Linked DNA regions of Homo sapiens: region 2 is linked to region 1. Evidence: promoter capture Hi-C in human tissues and cell types (Jung and others, 2019). All regions are on one chromosome and are shown on one strand. Each heading gives the region's core, a stretch centred on a gene start or on the middle of the fragment in contact. The rest is flanking DNA. Distances are from core to core; before and after follow the strand shown. Region 1 holds the start of FRRS1 (ferric chelate reductase 1). Region 2 has its middle 150 kb from the start of LINC01307.

Evidence for each region. The method cuts DNA at HindIII sites, captures the fragments that hold promoters and counts their contacts. A contact is called where the count stands out against the background at its distance.
Region 2: a contact is called between a fragment that was not itself captured here and the fragment with the promoter of FRRS1 in region 1, in 1 of the 25 tissues and cell types used here (lymphoblastoid cells).

The regions. Positions count from the first base shown.
Region 1 is chr1:99,765,214-99,767,972 of GRCh38, forward strand. FRRS1 (ferric chelate reductase 1) reads right to left here and starts at 1,422. Exons shown (of 17, transcript NM_001361041.2): 1 at 1,394-1,422. The HindIII fragment of the contact is 12,687 bases long and covers 434-2,759 here.
Region 2 is chr1:101,474,511-101,477,511 of GRCh38, forward strand. No RefSeq gene overlaps it. Among named protein-coding and RNA genes, the nearest start is that of LINC01307, 150 kb to the left of the region's middle. The HindIII fragment of the contact is 3,779 bases long and covers 1-3,001 here.

The sequences.
Region 1 (2,759 bases), core at 172-2,671:
AAAGGTCTTTGTTTTCAATAAGCTGATAGATCAAATTAAGCCCCCAACTTCAGTTCTATCCCAGTATAATACTCAAATCTTACCACTTTTTTAAAAATACAGAAGTGGCTGGGCGCGGTGGCTCACGCCTGTAATCCCAGCACTTTGGGAGGCCGAGGCAGGCAGATGACCTGACGCTGGGAGTTCGAAACCAGACTGACCAACATGGAGAAACCCCGTTTCTACTAAAAATACAAAATTAGCCGGGTGTGGTGGTGCCTGCCTGTAATCCCAGCTACTCAGGAGGCTGAGGCAGGAGAATTGCTTGAACCCGGGAGGCAGAGGTTGCAGTGAGCCGAAATCCCGCCGTTGCACTCCAGCCTGGGCCACAAGAGCAACACTCCGTCTCGAAAATAATAAATAAATAGGCCAGACGCGGTGGCTCAAGCCTGTAATCCCAGCACTTTGGGAGGCGGAGGCGGGCATATCACGAGGTCAGGAGATAGAGACCATCCTTGCCAACACAGTGAAACCCCGTCTCTACTAAAAATACAAAAAATTAGCCGGGCGTGGTGGCGGGCGCCTGTAATCCCAGCAGTATACTCAGGAGGCTGAAGCAGAAGAATCGCTTGAACCCGGGAGGCGGAGCTTGCAGTGAGCCGAGATCGCGCCACTGCACTCCAGCCTGGCGGACAGAGCGAGACTCCGTCTCAAAAATAAATGAATAAATAAATAAATAAAAATAAAAAATAAAAATACAGAAGCAAATGAAAATATCTGAACTGAAAAGTTTAGCTATGTTAAGAAATATTCCTAATAACACATTTACAATTTGAAAAATCCCCTTTACCCTTTAGGGCAGTATGACAAGCACACACAAAAATAAGTGCAGTGATAACACCTTGCCACCCTGGAGTCTTTCTGAAATTTTAACGACACACCAGGGCTAGGGAGTGGGAGGGTAAGGGGACTAAAAGTTCTAGATAAAAAGCCACTTTAAAAACCAAATAAGGTTCTAAGTGACCCTGATATAGGTAACCATGCCACTAGCTTTAAATATAAAAAAAGAGTTCCTACAGTTTTAAATTTAAAATTAAAAACAAAAAAAAAACTCCTGCAAGAATAAAGTCAATGATTTTCAGGATCCCAAACACGTCTCTACTTATAACCACCCATATCTTGGAATTAAAGCTTGTTAGTCAAAGTCACAGGACATATTAACCTAACTCGTTAGTGAACACTCATTAGCTCAATTCAAGCTCCAGAACATAGTTTCGGAATACAGCACCCGTTCTGCCTGGCCGACTGCCCTGGTCAGCACAGGCACTCGCTCTCCAGTCTGTCGCTAAGCTGGATTTGATTTTTAACGCTTTACAAAGAGCTTTGACATTAAGGAAAAAGACGTGACACTTACCTTGAGAAGCGAAGGCAGCCTAACCAACTTCCGGTTTTGTTACAACTTGTATCACATTTCAGCAGCTGGGTGGAGCCAGTTAAGCCTTGAGCCAAAAGGGAACCTTTCCCAAACTAAGCTGCAGAACTTGATTTGCAAGACCAGTGCTAGTTTTAGGACTCCATTTCTGAAAACTTAGAATTCTGTTTTACACTAAGGAACAGTGTTTGCCAACTAGTACCTACTTCGCCACAAAAATTATAGTTTTTGTGTTTAATTGCAAAACTATTTGAAAATACCTGTTCTATAATAGTGCTAAGTAAAAGCAAATTAACTTTTAAAAAGTGGAAAAAGATCAGATTGCATAGAACCGAAACCTTTCTGCAGTGTGAATGATATAATGCAAAAGAAATCTTTTATTTTGCAAATTACCCCTGAAATTTAGGAGTTTTGTTTCTTTTTAAGCCTTTAATCTGTTTCACAAGACTCTTTTGCAAAAGAAAAATTTTAGGGCTAGGAAAAGACAATGTAATTGAATTTTTAACAATCTTTGTTTTTATTTTGTTTTTTGTTTTCCTGTTTTTTACTTTTTTTCTTCTCTTTAATGTAATTGAAAATATTAAACATTCCATTTCAGACCTTGAGTGACATTGTAATTGCCCAGTGGGTTCACCTTGCCCGCTGTCTAGACAGAGCCGATTTATCAAGACAGGGGAATCGCAATGGAGAAAGAGTAATTCACGCAGAGCTGGCTGTGCAGGAGACCGGAGTTTTTTGTTTTGTTTGTTTGTTTGTTTTGTTTTGTTTTGTTTTGAGACGGAGTCTCTGTCTGTGGCCCAGGCTGGAGTGCGGTGGCATGATCTCGGCTCACTGCAGCCTCCCCGTCCTAGGTTCAAGCGATTCTCCTGCCTCAGCCTCCCCAGTAGCTGGGACTACAGGCGCCCGCCACCACGCCCGGCTAATTTTTGTATTTTAGCAGAGACAGGGTTTCACCATGTTGGCCAGGCTAGTTTGGAACTCCTGACCTCAAGTGATTCCACCTGCCTCAGCCTCCCAAAGTGCTGAGATTACAGGCATAAGCCACCGCGCCCAGCCCGGAGTTCTATTATTACTCAACACAGTCTCCCCAGGATTCGGAGATCAGAATTTTTAAAGATAATTTGGCGGGTAGGGGCTTGGGAAGTGGGAGTGCTAATTGGTCAGATTGGAGATGGAATCATGGGGGGTCGACGTGAGGTTTTCTTGCTGTCTTCTGTTCCTGGGTGGGATGGCAGAACTGGGTGAGCCCAATTACCGGTCTGTGTGGCATCAGCTGATCCACCGAGTCCAGGCTCTGCAAAATATCTCAAGCACTGATCTTAGGTTTTACAATAGTGATGTTATCCCC
Region 2 (3,001 bases), core at 93-2,592, 1.7 Mb after region 1:
TCAATAGAAAAAAAATTCTTGGTGAAAATTGAGCTTCCAATATGTGTCTATACTTGAAAATTGAGTAGTGGAATTGAATAATTACATGCTTATTTTAAGCTTAGAAAACATCTTTTCCTCCATTACTTCAATGTTTTAGTTGAAGAGCCACTGTGACCTGCATACACATTAAACAGTCTCTATTGACTATAATGGGAATAGGAAATGAAGAAAAAACAAGTCACCTATAAGGTATAGTTTTACTTAGTCATGAATAAGGAAATGTCACATTTTAAAGAGGTAATATCTTACACTTATTGGTTTCTGAATTTGTTTCAGCTAAAATATCATATCATAAATGATGCAGATTTGTGCATATTAGAAAAGTTTTCTTGACTGTACTGTTTTCTCTCATCTGGTCTGACTTCGTAGAGGTAATTGCTGTTAACAGTCCCTATGTCCATTATACCTACAAATGCAGGTTCTTTTCCCCAAAGAGACTACAACTGGGGCCCTTCACAGAAGCTAGACTTTGCCATAGAACTTTCCTAGAGTTATAGGTTGGAAAAGAGCTAGAGAGCAGATGGTATATGTTCAGAGGCTGTTTCGCATTTTCAGATCTTATAAGAAAAGCATGCCACTTATACAACCCTAAGTTTTCTGCTTTAGATCTACCTGATGTTTGCTGTATGACAAATTTCATCACCTGGCGCAGGACCATTCTGGATGAGTGGTATTAAGACACTGCCATTCTGTATGGCAACGCCTTAGGGTATAGCAGCCAAAAATAAATCATTAGTAGGTTATTACAAATCATTGGTAGGTATTGGGCTTGTAACACAAAAGCTTATTGACTATATCTGTTAATTTTTTAGAGATAGCTTATCTTGGCAGTTTAATGGCTGCCTTTGGAATAGTCCCTGATATCACACAAGGTCCATTTTGGTCCTTTGATTTTTATTCTCAGAAGAAAACACATATTTAGATTAATTTAACTTAAGAATGAGAAAAACTGGTCTCAATTTTAAAAACTTCTTTCAAACTGTTAACCATTGAAAGAGAATTTTGGACAGCTTTCCTCTGCCACCAAGCTTCTTCAATTTATACTTTACAAAAGCCCCAAAACTAGAAAATCCTACAATAAATGGTTCAAAGTATAGAAGGACAGCTAGACAATGCCATTGAGCCTGTGAGACTTGCAGGAGAGCATCCTGAAATTAGACAGGTGGTGGTACCAAATGCTTAGGATACTGGCATATGAGATCAATTGCATGCTGTCCTAGAAGACTGTTGTACTTACATCCCTACAGACCTCTCTAGGATCTCTCATACAACTAAAATATCCAGGAAACAACAACAAGAAAAAGAAATGATACAATTAGGTTACTTGTCTCATTGGTTTAGTTTGGGAATGAGCTCTTTTCTCTTGGTTAAATTTGGATAGCCTTGACTCCCTTATCGTGAATGGACTACAAGTTTTGATGACTATCCTTCAGTTAGCATTTCCATTTTTCAGTGATCAAATATACGGTATTTAGAGGCTTAAATGCTGTGTGTGTGTGTGGGGGGGTCACTGTCCCATCAAATGATCCAATAAATGCATTTTCCACCAAAAGAATAAGCAAACCTGACCCTTAACTGGTGTTGGAATGATTACCATCAGAAGGTCCACACACAACTAAAACAAGTCATCCAGCAGTATGGAACTGAATGCACAGATAATGCCCTATCTTTCATCTTAGGAAGAAGCATGATCTAATGGGTTACTGTGTTAGTTTTCTGCTGCTGTGTTCAAGTATTACCACAAATTTGGAGGCTTAAAATGACACACATTTGTTACCTCATGCTTTCTGTGGGATCTAGGAAATCTAGGAGTGGCTTAGCTGGGTCCCCTGCTCTACGGTCTCCCAGCATTAAATTCTCAATTTTGGTTGAGGCTACAGTCTCACTTGATGTCCAGTTGCGGAACAATCTGCTTCTAAGTGCACAGGATTACTGGCAGCATTCATTCCTAGTGGGTAGCTGGACCGAGGACTTCAGTTTCTTGCTGGCTATCAGCTGGAGACTAGTGTCTTGCCACTCAACCAAAGGTGTTTTCTTCCTTAAAGTTAACAAGGGACAAAATTTAGCAAGAGGAATATTATACTCTTATCCCATCACCTTTGCATTATTCAACCAGTTAAGAGCAAGTCATGGGTCACAAGGCATGAATATCAGGAAGTGGGGGTCATGAGGCCCACCTTATAGTTTGTTCACTCCAGGGGCTGAGAATTGAAACCCCCCAATAATATCCTGTTCCTGTGTTAAGTTATATTGTGGTTAAGAATACTTCCTGCCCATGTGTTCAGTCTTAACGGGACTAGGAATATTTTTCTGTACCTATTAATTCAAAGAAATTAGAAATAGGTAAAATCCTAAAATAAGAGTTCATTTTTAAACTATTTGATTTTGTGAGAATAAAGGTATTTTAAATGTGATGGGAAATTTATTAAACCTGAAATATTTTGCCCAAATCTAGGAGCAGCTGATGACTCATATAATTGTATTAGTTATCTATTGCCATGCAATAAATTATCCTCAAAATTAGTATCTTAGAACAATAAACATTTATTATCTCACACAGTTCTGAAGGTCAGGAATCAGAGTGTCATAGGTAGTAACTTCTGACTTATTGTCTCCCATGTGGTTGCAGTCAAGATGTTAGCTGGAGTTGTAGCCACTTGAAGGGATTGAAGAATCCACCTCCAGGCTCACTCACATGGTTGTTGTCAGGAGACTTCAGTTCTTCACTACGTGCATCTCTTTCTCTGGGGTAGTTCAAGCAACATGGCAGCTGGCTTCCACCCATAGTGAGTGATATATGAGAGACAGAAAGAGAGAGAGAGAGAGACTGATTCAAATTATAAAAAGCTTCAGTCTTTTTAAAACTAATTTTAGCAGTGATACACCATTATTTCAGCTGTATTCTATTCATTAGACACGTTACTAAGTCTACCCACATTCAATGGGAAGAAAATTAGGC